Regions from separate parts of the Homo sapiens genome. Here region 1 is linked to region 2. Evidence: promoter capture Hi-C in 16 types of primary human blood cells and fetal thymus (Javierre and others, 2016). All regions are on one chromosome and are shown on one strand. The core of a region is centred on a gene start or on the middle of the fragment in contact, and the rest is flanking DNA. Distances in the headings are between cores, read along the strand shown.

Region 1 (6,623 bases), core at 2,550-5,049, 2.2 Mb before region 2:
AATAAGCATGGATGCTAGTTCACTGTGGAGTTGAGATGCATTTTACATAATTATGAGTTTGTTCATATAAAGAAAAGCTGTGGAAAAGAGTCTTAGAGATTTTGTAATATCATTCTAAATAGATTAAGAAAAGATATAATTTCTTTACTGCAGTTAAATCATATAATGTTTGTATGATTAAAAATAAATTTCTCAGAATTGTGATTTTAGTAACTTTATATAAAATGTGTGAGACAAAAACTTATTAAGGTTAAATAGAATTGTTTCTTCTGAATAATCTAACAAAGGAAAATATAAGTGATTGAATCATAAGATATAAGGGGGGTAAAGTATTAAAAATAACTTTTTTGTTTGATAACTTGAGAATTTAGAAGATTTTGCCAAGTATGTGTTGTTGCTTGACTTCTTAAATATGGCATTGATGAATTTAAAGTAGGAGCATCAGTTATTACTTCTGATTCATTAATGGCCAGAATTTTGTGTTTGGTGTAATAGTTGTGTCACCATTCTTGTTGCTTTTTAAAAATCAGGCTAATCATGTGGTCCATGTCTCTTCAAAGCTTGACCTGCACAAATGCCATATTTCTATTTGGACCACATATTCTCCATTTTGCATTGAGCAGTAGAGTACAGTGGAAAGGGAATAAGAATACTGATTATTCTGAACAGTTTAGTCCCAAGAGAATAGCGTTTTAAAAAAGAAAAACAAGATTTGGAGTCATTGTGGGTTATTTTTGGTGGGATGGAGGATCTTAAAAATGCCTAATTGTGAGAGAATCAATTGCTGAAAGTGTTAAAATTTCTGAAAATAAATGCTTAATTACATATACAGGAATTAAATAGTTTGGAAGAGGGTTGGATTATCATTACCTTTACAATACTGTATAATCAGAAGTTCTCTGAACCTCAATTGTATATCTAGACATAAAAATTGTTTTCTGTATAGGATGTTGTTTGGTTTGTTTCTGAGTGTTTAAATTTTGCAAAAACAAATGTTAAATTTGTGCTTCAGTACCTAGATAAATTGGAAAGGTTAATGTTCTAGTTTCTGGAAGGTAAGCCTGGGAGACACATAAGCAATTCACTGCTATAATTTAGTTGATGTAAAATGACGGAAACTGACTCAATATGTCAGGTTTAACTCTGCCCAAAAGCAGCAGACATGTAAGCAGATGTGCAATAAAAAATGATCTTGATCCATTTCACTAATGTGTGCTTGACATTTTTTACTATATTGACATTTATTATGGAAAGAGTTAATAATTATTTTTTCTGATGTGCTACACTAGTGGCCAGTATATGGTTAAGTTGATGCTGTATTTATTCTAAGACGGATTTAAAAAGGCAGTTTTCTAAATATGAACTTGTGAATTTTTGTATGTGTGTTTGAGTAAATTGAGAAATGAATTTTATAAATGTTCTATTGATGTTGCAGTAAAGAAGCCTTTTGAAGTAATTGATTTCATTTGAAGCTTTGATTCTTCTGTATATGTTGACATCTTTAATATTTACAGATGCTGTAAAGTGATGATTTTCTTGCTGTCCTCCGTGCTGCCTGGGAAGCACTCTTGGGGGTCTTTGTTGGATGGGGTGTGAAAGAGGGGCAAGAGCTGAACCGCATCTGTGAGGCTTTAGGCAGTTACAAACTACAACCAGAGCAGTTGCACTTTATGGTCTGTTTTATGTAGTGAGGTATTATATATAATTTTATTGGGAAAAAAGGAGTTCTTTTGCTAGTAAAGTTAAAGAGAAACACTGTCATAAACTGTATTTCTTCATAAATAATTCCATGAAGATAGCTATCTGACACATTGCTGTCAAAAAGCCCAGGAAAGTGATAAGGGTTTTCTTTCTCCCCTAACAAAATAACATTATTCTGCTACAGTATTCATCTCTAATTCCATAACCTCAAAAAGACCTGATAGAATTGAATAAATACTGGAAATGACAAATTTAAAATATCAGTGGGATAGAGAGATCTTTAAGATTTATGAAAACAATTACAGAACTCTTTTTTTTTTTTTTTAATTGAGGCACAATCTCACTCCATCACTCAGACTGGAGTGCAGTGGCAGGATCTTGGCTGACTGCAACCTTTGCCTCCTGGCAGAACTCTTCAGCCTGAAAAAGCGATGGTTGGGTAGGACATTGGGATAAGGGTATGTCAGAGGCAGAATATGCTTAAAACTTGCAAAATCAAGAAGACTGCTAATCAGGTAAAGTCAAATTTGTTGACAAAATATTGGGATTCAGGACTCTTCTTCAAGTCCTAAAGAGATGGTTTTTAAAATAAATTTAAGAAAACCTAGCTTTATATAGGAGCAATATCCAGTCATTTGAGAAAGCATTGCTAGTTATGTCTGGGTTGATTCCCTTTAACTGTTTTGGAGGCCAGGGTGTATATATTTGTTCATGATAAGGTGTAAATAGCTCTTTCATAAAATTTTAGATCTGAAGCCTTATTGATTAATTTTAATGTATATTCTCTTCATTTTATAAATTGAAGAAAGCTGGCCGGGCGTGGTGCTCATGCTATAATTCCAGTACTCTGGGAGGGCGATGCTGGTGGATCACTTGAGGCCAGGAGTTCAAGACCAGGCTGACCAACATGGTGAAACCCCGTCTTTACTAAAAATACAAAAATTAGCCAAATGTGGTAGTGGGCGCCTGTAATCCCAGCTACTTAGGAGGCTGAGGTAGGAGGATCACCTGAGTCAGGGAGGCGGAGGTTGCAGTGAACCAACATCATGCCACTGTGCTCCAGCCTGGGTGACAGAGTGAGACCCCATCTCAAAAAAAAATTGTACATATAGTGGTGGAGCCAAACTTGACCTGATGTTTCTCCCAAATATGGTTCAAGCTTTGCTCATGCTGATCTCTACCTAAATTTTTCTTTTTCTTCAGATAAAATTCTACCTATCCATAATTAAGGCAATCAAAATTCTCTTTCCTTTATAGTTTTTCTGGTTTCCCTCCATACACCCTCAAACATAAAGTAACATAAAAACAGTAGCATACATGGATCAGCTATGTTCTCATTTCCTTGTAACCCTATACCTTTCAGGGTACTTGTCATATTCTGCCATTACTTTTGTTTTTCTATTAATCTAGTCTTTTACTAAATTACTTGTACTTTGAGAACATAGACTAGGCATTCTTTTCTTTCTTGTATATGTGTATGTTTAAATCTTTTAAAATCTTGAACCATAACATAAAGAGGTAAGTGCACAAGACAAAAATATTTAGCTAAGTAATTTACCAGTAAGTCAAGAAGTGGACCATGACAGCACTTCAGAAAGAGGTCCTGGATTTGATTTGCTAACATTTCAATGAAGACTTTTGCATCTGTATTCATGAGAGATATCGGTCTGTGGTTTTCTTTTTCTTTTCCTTTTTTTTTCCTATCTTTTACTCTGGTATCACTGTAATAGCAGCCTTATAGAGTGAATTGGGAAGGATTCACTTTTATGGAAGTGTTCATAAATGATTGGTATTATTTCTTATTTAAATATTTGATAGAATTAACTAGTGGAATCATCCAGGTGTGGGATTTTCTTTGTGGGAAGATTTTAAATTATTATTATTTTTTCTATTTCTTTACATATTACAGGCCTGTTGAGATTTTCTATATGTTCTTTATTCAGTTTCAATAATTTGTTCTTTCTAGGAATTTATCTGGTTCATCTTAGTTGTCTAGTTTGTTCATAGTAGTGCCTTACAGTCCTTTTAATTTCATAAGGTTTGGTGGTCAAGTTCCTCCCTACTTTTGTAATTTTGGTAATCTTTATTTTCTCTCTCTCTCTTTTTTTTCTTTAACCATATCAGTCAACATTGAAGTTGTCAAAGAAGTTATTGAAGTCAAAGAACCAGCTTGGGGTTCATTGATTTTTCTCTGCTCTCTTTTCTTTTTCTTTGGTTCTGTTCTCTTTATTATTATTTTCTGCTTCCTTTAGCTTTAATTTGCTGTTCTTTTCTATACATTCAGGCTTAGAGAGTTCTCTTTTTCTCAAATACAGGCATGTAGACCTATAGATTTCCCTCTAAGCACTGCTTTAGCTGCATCTCATAAATTTGTATATGTCATGTTTTTATTTTCATTCAGTTCAAAATATTTTTAAATTTCATCTTGATTTCTTCTTTGAACTATGGATTACTTAAAAGTATATTGTTTAATTTTCAAGTATTTGGGAATTCTTACCAAATATGTGTTTGTTATTGATTGCTAATTTAATTTTGTTAAATTTGGAGAACTTATTTTGTATTGTTTCAGTCCTTTTAAGTTTGTTGAAATATCTTTTATAGTCTAGTATATGTGCTGTCTTGGAGAATGTTCCATGTGTACAGGAGAAGAATATGACTAAATTGACATCAATCTTATGAAATAGTAGCTTGTAGGACTTTGTATGATTGTATGTTTCCTGTGTTGAGGACATAAATGTGTCTACCTAAATAAAGGATAAGAATCTGAGGAACAAAAGAGATGGACCATATGGTAAGGGATATTGCTTATTTGCAGATCCATCCTTTGTTCTCTACTATATCTTGTGAAATTAATCTCTAGGACTTTACCAACCAGCTTATTTTCCCTCTGACATCCAGTTATCACCCTCCAAGTGATTCTGATGTGTACTAAAGTAGGTATTTTGAGCCGTAAGAGAAAGATATGCACAGGCTTGATAACCATTTGGAGCACCAGCAGAATATTGGCGTGTTGGCAGGAGAAAGAGAATGAAGCTTTTTTTTCTGCCCTCTCTCATGATGTTGTTATGAGCCACAATCGGGAAGGTCACAGCTCCTGTCGGGCAGCTCTCTCCGTATGACAATCTCTCCAGCTTCTGGGGATGTTGCTTTCCCACACCCTCAGGCCTAAGAATGGCAAAGGATCTTGCATTGTATCTAGCCCAACTAACTGCAGTATCCATTGTGGTTTTCCTACATCCTACCCAGACTTTTATAAATAATTTAATAATAATTCTCCCAAGTTGAAAGTGCTGTCTGTTTCCTGCTTGGACTCTGAAAGATGATCTAAGTAATGGAGAGAAGTAATAGAATGTAGAGATTTTGTTTGTTTTTTGAGACGGAGTTTCGCTCTTGTCGCCCAGGCTGGAGTGCAGTGGTGCGATCTCAGCTCACTGCAACCTTTGCCTCCTGGGTTCAAGGATTCTCCTGCCTCAGCCTCCCAAGTAGCTGGGATTACAAGCATGTGCCAGCACGCGTGGTTAATTTTTTGTATTTTTTTTTTTTTTTCAGTAGAGACGGGGTTTCACCATGTTGACCAGGCTGGTCTCGAACTCCTGGCCTCAAGTGATCCGCCTGCCTCAGCCTCCCAAAGCGCTGGGATTACAGGGTGAGCCACCGCGCCTGGCCGAATGTAGAGGTTTTGGTTCAAGGATATTTTACCTAGAAATTTGGCAGTGAACAGATTTATGAGAGACATAGATGGTAACTTTTAAATAGACGGTGTATTTGTTTTATATATATTTTTGAAAAAGGAGGTCTGTGCATCTAGAAGGCAGAGAGGAGTCAATGCATATAGAAAGAGACTGAGATGCTGGAAATACAGAAATAACGGTAGAATGAGAAGGAAGATAAAACCAAGAGTACAAATTTAAACTTGTTGGAAAGGAAAGAAGTGCTACTTAATTTTCTTAAACTGAGGGAAAGAAATTGAGGATAATTTTATTGATTCCTAGAGTAGCAACATCAACATCACTGGGAACATGTGATAATACAAATTCATGGGCTTTGCCTCTACTGAATTGGAAACAGGAAGGGGTGCCCGGCAATCTGTTTTAACAAGCCCTCCAGGTGATTCGGATACGTGCTAAAGTAGGTATTTTGAGGCGAAAGAGAAGGGAAGATATGCACAGGCTCGATAGTCTAGAAATATTTTCTATTGCATAGCAAGGGTTGGTAACTGGAAGAGAGTGGAAAACATTTGCTATACAAACTTAAAAGCCTTAAATTTTGTTTATTAGGAATGGGAGGCTTTTCATTAATTGATAATGAGAGGGAGATGTTTGTAAGTTGCTTACTATTAAAATCTCAAATATTTAGTACAGCTTAAAAAGATTTTGAGATGTCTTTGGGTGCCCTAGAGTTCACTAATTTTAATTATTTATAACTTCTGTGAAGAAAACAAAAGTTTTTCCAGCTACATGGTCTGTTAGAAAATAAAAATTAAATGGCTCAGACTAAGAAGATGTGGAAGAAATTATAGGGCCAGACTCATTTTCAGATACTCAAAACAAACGATCAGTTGCCAAGTAATCAAGTACCTTTTTTACATTCTTTCACCTCATCCATTCTTTATACATTTAATTATGTGTGTATGTGCTTTTTAGATCCCATACCTGTATAATTATCTTTAATTTTTAGTTTAATTTGCATAGGAAATGAATAACTGGATACATTAAAAATTTTGTTTTGATTATGAATTTATACTGCAAGTATTTTTCAAAATACTTACAATGTACTTTAGCTGTGGTGCTCAACTTAGGATGTATTTGCAGCCCCTAAAAGATAAAATCTGATAAATATACTCCTTTTAAAACAAAAGGCATTTGAAATAGCACATATCCATAATACCCTTTTAAAAGACTGAAAAAATTAAGGGAATTTCC
Region 2 (6,237 bases), core at 219-2,718:
CTAGAATCTGTTACACATAATTTAGGATTGAGACTTGAGAAATTGTCATTCCAATCCAGAAAACTTTAGATTTGCAAATATATTTGACAAATTAATAAATTAACATTTTATTTGGTTAATTTCAAGAATAGGGCATTTAAAGAAGTCTGTGTTTGCTTTAGTTCGGCAATAAAGTTCCTGCCACTCACAATAATCCTTATTATTCTCTGAAAGACATGTTATATTTTTGTCATCATAAATATTTATTAATTACTGTTTATAGCACTGGGTTAGGTACTCATCAAGCAACCAAAAATAATTCTTACCATCTAGGATGCTTCCAATATAAAATATAGACAATATATAACCAGGTCAATTGGGAAATAGATCATTTCAGTATGATAAAAGATAGTATTCACATTAACAGTGTGAAAGGGCAGGAACAATAAGACACTTGACTCACTGGTCTTTAAAATGTAGCATCCAAAATGAGCAAGTGGAGAAAAGGTTAAACAAGTAGGTGACACATTTAAAAAACAAGTAGATGAAAGGACTATTCTCAAAAATCTTGTTTTATGTGAGAAACCATCAAATTATGAATTCCAAGTACTGTATTTTTTTTACTTTTCAAGGGTAGGCTCTCCTATACCTTATCTAAACAATTTTTCAAAATAGCCACAATTACTTTGTTTTCCTCTCTACACTAAATTGCCCTTTGCCTCTTGAGCGATTATCTTTTTCAGATTCACCTCAACTTCTTCAGGTTCAAGCGGACTTCACCTGTAAGCCCCTCTCGGTTCTCCCTCTTCTCTGAACTACTAATGGCCTAATTTAGCACAATTATATTGCTTTGTTCATTCCATGTATAGTAAAAGAGTCTACAAAACACATGCAAGCATTCATGCAATTATATGTTGATTTGTTCATGGGTCGACCCCAAAGTCTATTCTCCATCGCTGAAGCATGGAAGACAAATACCCTTCACTTCTTCAGAGGCATAACACATGCACTTCTCTTGTCATGGTGACAGGCATGTGCTGGTGGAGGTCAAAGAAACAGGAACACAAGTGAAATCGAGGTGAGTGTCAGGTAAGGACCAAAGCACCACGCCTACCTCATCTTTGCCCACAGAACACCCATTCTTCCCGTGTCCTGTTTCCCAGGACGTATCCGGGGCGGATAAGAAATCACCCGTGGGGAGGCGGTGAACTCCTCCGCAGGGGCCGATGCCCGGGACAGGGGCGGGGAAGGCTAATGAGGCGACTTGTGCGGGGAGGGGCCAAGGAGGAGCCCAGGTGTCCCGCTCCCGCTCGACGGCGCGCGCCTGCGCGAGCCCAGTTGGCGTCGCACCCTTGAGCGCAGCATCCCTACGCCAGCGAGTCCCAATACTAGGGAGGGAGGGAGGGAGGAGGGGCGGCCGGCCCCCCGCCCCCGCGCGCGGCCACGTGACGCCGGCTGAGGAGATTGGAGGGGCGGCTGCGCGAGGCTGCAGACTGGTGCAGCGCACTGTGCTGGCGGCTGGGCCTCCTCCACCTCCTCGTCTTTCTCCCGGGAACCTTGACGACGCCTTCCGCTTGGCCCTGCCTTCTGCCGCATCCCCGCCGCCGCGGCGCCTTGAGGAGCAGGAGAAGACGCAGCCGGGCCGCCGCCGTTAGAGGGGTTCCCGGCCGCCGCTCGCCCCGTCGGCCGCCACCGCCTCCGGGGTCAGCCCTCTCTCTGGGTCTCCGCTTTCTCCTGCCGCCAGCGCCCGCTCATCGCCGCGATGGGGCTCCTGGACTCGGAGCCGGGTAGTGTCCTAAACGTAGTGTCCACGGCACTCAACGACACGGTAGAGTTCTACCGCTGGACCTGGTCCATCGCAGGTAAAGCCGCTGACTTCCCCATCCTCGCTCGGTCCCCCGCGGGGGGTCACCGGCCCCTGGTCTCGCAGCTCCCGGGCCCGGCCCCACAGGCCCCCGCGCCCTGCGGCTTTCGGATGCTGCGGATCAGCGGAGGGGCCGGCGCGGGCACTGCGGTTGAGCACTGGTTAATCTGATCCGAATGTTAAGGCCTCCCCTCCCCCGACACTCGCAGGGTTTTCTTCTGAGCTCCCTCCATCTCTCATCAGCTCTCGGATGCGGGAGCTGACATATCAGATGGAGCCTGTGCAGCCAGGAGCTCCTCGCAGGAGCCGCCCCACCCTGTGCTCCCACATCTCCCGAGCTCGCCTCCCTCTTCCCCGTGCACAGGATTCCTTTTAACATTTAGTCCTATTTTGTATGGAGAGCGGGCTGGGGAGGAAGGAGGGCTTCAGGGGCAGCTGAAGGTACAGGAGGTTTCTTCAGCCTCCTGGTCGCTTTGACAGAACCCTGCTAATCTTTTCTTCTATCTAGCTCCTTCATCTATAGTATAATTCGGACTGAAAAGTAAAATAATATTGTTTGGCTCCTTGAACCTTGAAGAATGTTAGTTTCCGAGGCATTTTCAACAGCAAATATGTTTGAAGTGATTGTCTATAATGGCTTTGCGCACTGCAGTGCAGTCAGGGGGAGGGGGAGGCCAAAACACCGGGGAAGAAATCAGTCTTTAGGAAGGGGGTCTCTACAGCAACACCTAGAGGTTGTCCCAGATGCCTACATATATACAGTTCTTAAATCAGCAAACTTTTCTTTAGCTGTTGCAGTTAATTTGGCAGGGCTGTCAATTGTTTGATTTATGCAGCTTTCCTAGCGTCCAACTGTGATATTATATTTTTACATTGTACTGTTTATTTCTTCATTTGCTTCGCTGCTTTTGATTTTAAAGCATTTAAAAGTCTTTGAAATCTAAAATAAGGTTTAAAGGATTTCAGAAATGATTTTACGAGGTCAATTTTTCTGGTCCTTTTGCAGTATCACACTGCATCCTATCAGTGAAGGATATTAACGTTCCATCTTATGACTCTGCCTTCCCTACTTCGAAATGAAAATGTACTCCTGTAGTTTTTGTGTTCATTGTTGTTAGAGGAAATTAGACAGTGGTTACAGCATGAATGTAGTCCGATACATAGGGCTTATGTTTTGGGAAAAACGTATGCTGGAATTATTTTTGTGAGAGACAAAATGATTATTTGGCATTAATACTGCATTCACTTCTTTAGAAAAGTATGTTCTTTTTCAGAAGATCTCAACTTTGACACTGGGAAATAAGCTATTTAATAAGCCATTACAGCTGAAAATGGTTAAAAGGCAGTTTTCAATGGAGTGTTTCTTCAGTTTTTTTTTTTGTTTCTATGCGCTATTACACTGATGTTACACTGTACCTGCAAAAACTGGGAAAGATGTGCCCTTCCCTTCACGTCTGTGATTTCGGTTCTTTAAACGTTGCATCAGGGCTTCCCATTACACAATTGTATAGAGCTGAACATCAGACAAGTTCTTTAGCAGGTAATTGCACTTCGCACACCTAGGAGTCAGACACTGTTGAGATACTCCAGTCTCCATATAGCCAGAGCCACACCCAGGAGTTCTCGGTCCTGTCATTCCTATCCTATCCCGGAGCTTTCCCATCTCTTGAGTCTCAGAAGGAAAAATTGAGGGCAAAGGTAGAATACACCTTTCTGTGATGGTGAATTCCTTCCTGATGATGTTTGTGTAAAAGAAACCACACACACACAAATGAAACAGGAAATTTTGTGCAGTTGCCGCATGTGAAAGCTTGCTACTAGGCTTCGAAGGGCATATAAAATAATATAATATTGTGGGCCAAGCCTGAGAAGTGAGAGTAGCCTTAGAACACAAGTGACCTCTCACTAGCAGGCCGAAGGAAGGTATTTGCCTATGCTTTGACTATCCACTTACGAAACCTGAGACTGCTTCCTTGCTTTCTGTAATGAGCTACCTTATGTAGGCAGATGGTATTTCTTAACCAACAGAGAGGCTTAGTGGATATAGTCTGTTCTGCTGTACTGCTGTGTGAGGAGGAGTATTTTTCAGGTCCAGGCCGAATAGACCTGAAGTCTGTGGTGTCCCATTTACGTTTACTCTCCCTCATTCTATGCCCCTCGTGTTCCTTTTTTTTTTTTTTTTTTTTTTTTGGACTCATTCACTCTGCTCTGATTCCACCTCTCAGCATAATTTGATGAAAATCTGGGTGGGGGATATCAAAATAGAAAAGTAGCTTATAAGATGAGGTTAAACAAAAGTTGGTGAGTCAAATGTTTGGAAAGAAGGGGAAACAGAAATGGGCGGGATAGAAAGATGGTCTTGAGAAATAGTGATGAGTGTGGTGAAAGGATGCAAATTATTGAGGGAGAGCAAGAAATGAGGTAGGCTCCTTGTCCTTGGCTGCTCTCATTCCTAGTGCTGTAGTTACATGCTTCTTTCATTCTTTTATTAATTCATTAAATGCCATTTTGTGCTATTATATCAAATGGTGCTTTAAATATCCAAACATATCCAAAGCAATGTCTGAAAACTGGGCTTTTCAGAGGCACATATGTAGCAAATACAAAATATGGTCCATAATAATGTTAACAACAAAAATGTTACTTTTACTACAGTATTAACACTTTGTACATTGGAATTGAAAGTTTGAAAGAGCTATACTTTTAGAAAAACAACAAAAATAATTTTTATTTCTCTGTATTTGTAGACATTTTGAACGAGGAAATTAGCGTTGGTTTATGTTAAAGTATAGGCTGGTGTAGGACTTTATACTAGTTGTTAGTATTAGAGTAGGTATTCCATGTCATCATGTTAGTTTTTTTCTTCTATTCTTTCACTTCATGAGTACATTTAAATTATTAGGATTGGAGTCCTAGGCTCAACGTATACATCTAATAAAAGTTGTATATACATTTTTTAAACTGATGAATCTAAATATTCCCCAATCTATGAATACCCAACTTATCTACATTATTCATTTATTCATGCTTTTAATAAATGTTTAATAGCTTTTTTGCATACCTGACATTTAGCATATAAACACCCTAGAGAGTTAGTAGGATGCTTACGGTAAAGCCAGGTGTCTCCTGTGAGGCCATGTATCTTCTGACCATTTGTTTCTAAATAGCTGTTGTTCACAGGGTATGGGTGCTGTCTGTTGGTTGGGGGTGGTAATGATTGGCATTGGCCCTCTTTTCGCAGATATAGTACCCTGCATTTTGGTGAAAAAAATTGTCTACTTGGTAGTTGCAGTTAGAACATAACTTGCTGGGTCCTTGAATTAACTTTGGAGGGGTCAGAAAGAAGGGATGAGTGGTACAGGAAGAGGGAGGAGAGCTGTAGGATGACGAAATGTGGAAGCCAGGCTTATGATACCATTTCTTTCCGTATTTACTTGCCATGTACAGGCACAGTTCTAGGCTCTGGAAAGGAAAGGAGGACACTTGGTCACTGCCCTCATGCATCTTGCAAAGTCTAGGGGGTCACTGTCATTCCCCTTTCCTTGATATCATGGTCTGGAGGCAGTGTGATCTGTCAGACTCAGGACTAGCTGGGGCCTAGGGAAGATCAGAAAAGTCCTTCCCTGCTCTTCTCATCTCTACTTCTCCTAAGTGAAAGGAATATACAGTTGTTTTTAGAATATTTTAGCTGTTTCACCACAGTTTACTTCCCTCTACCCTTGAATGAGGAGTTGATGTGAGTACTGTCAGAGTATTTGGAGAGGCATACTAGGGCAAAAGGTGTCAAAGGCAAGGGGAACAGCTTGACTGAAAACCATGGAAACTGGGAAGGTGCTTAAGGGTCAGGCCAGTGAGTCATCCAGGTTTGATGAAGCTGGGGGCTAGTGGGAGGGGATGTTTAACTCAGCTCAAATAAGCTGAAGTAAAAGCAGGTTTGTCTTAGGGATTGCTAGGTCCCAGAGGAGCATGTATTTTAAGTATTGTACAGTATGCTTACATTAATTTTATTATTCGTCACAGTTAATGTTTAGTTTTTCATCTATGTTATTATCTAAAATAGGTTTATTTGTTTGGCTAAGCCTGGTAATGCAGTTTTCTTTGAATGTTTCTTTGAGAAAAGACATTCTGATTCCAAGTTGTAGGCAGCTAATTAAAAAAAAAAAAGAAAGAAAGAAACATCACCAGCTCCTAACATGGGATCTCCCTTGGTCACTGTTTTCAGTGACGTCCTAATTATCCTTTACTCATAAGCTCCTTGAAGCCTCTGGGATGTCCATGCCATTTTATGGTTTTTTGTTTTGGTTTGGTTTTTATTGTCTTTTCCTTCACCACAGTTTGATTTTTGGTGGTAGACTGCTAGACTTTAATAGCTAATGCTCTTATCCATTCCCCAA

What was found. Contacts are between HindIII fragments. The CHiCAGO score rates a contact against its expected background, and 5 or more counts as called.
Region 1: a contact is called between a fragment that was not itself captured here and the fragment with the promoter of ELOVL4 in region 2, in 1 of 17 cell types (neutrophils). The highest score is 5.8, in neutrophils.

Annotation. Positions count from the first base shown.
Region 1 is chr6:82,164,820-82,171,442 of GRCh38, reverse strand. It overlaps IBTK (inhibitor of Bruton tyrosine kinase), which reads left to right. Exons shown (of 29, transcript NM_015525.4): 29 at 1-1,456. The coding sequence ends at 18. Among named protein-coding and RNA genes, the nearest start is that of LINC02542, 66 kb to the right of the region's middle. The HindIII fragment of the contact is 1,874 bases long and covers 2,863-4,736 here.
Region 2 is chr6:79,942,784-79,949,020 of GRCh38, reverse strand. It overlaps ELOVL4 (ELOVL fatty acid elongase 4), which reads left to right and starts at 1,468. Exons shown (of 6, transcript NM_022726.4): 1 at 1,468-1,841. The coding sequence starts at 1,742. LOC124901350 reads left to right here. Exons shown (of 2, transcript XM_047419628.1): 2 at 1,010-1,634. The coding sequence starts at 1,206. The coding sequence ends at 1,634. LOC124901351 (a long non-coding RNA gene) reads right to left here and starts at 1,216. Exons shown (of 3, transcript XR_007059656.1): 1 at 1,094-1,216. RefSeq lists a silencer at 1,359-1,408. The HindIII fragment of the contact is 8,446 bases long and covers 1-3,655 here.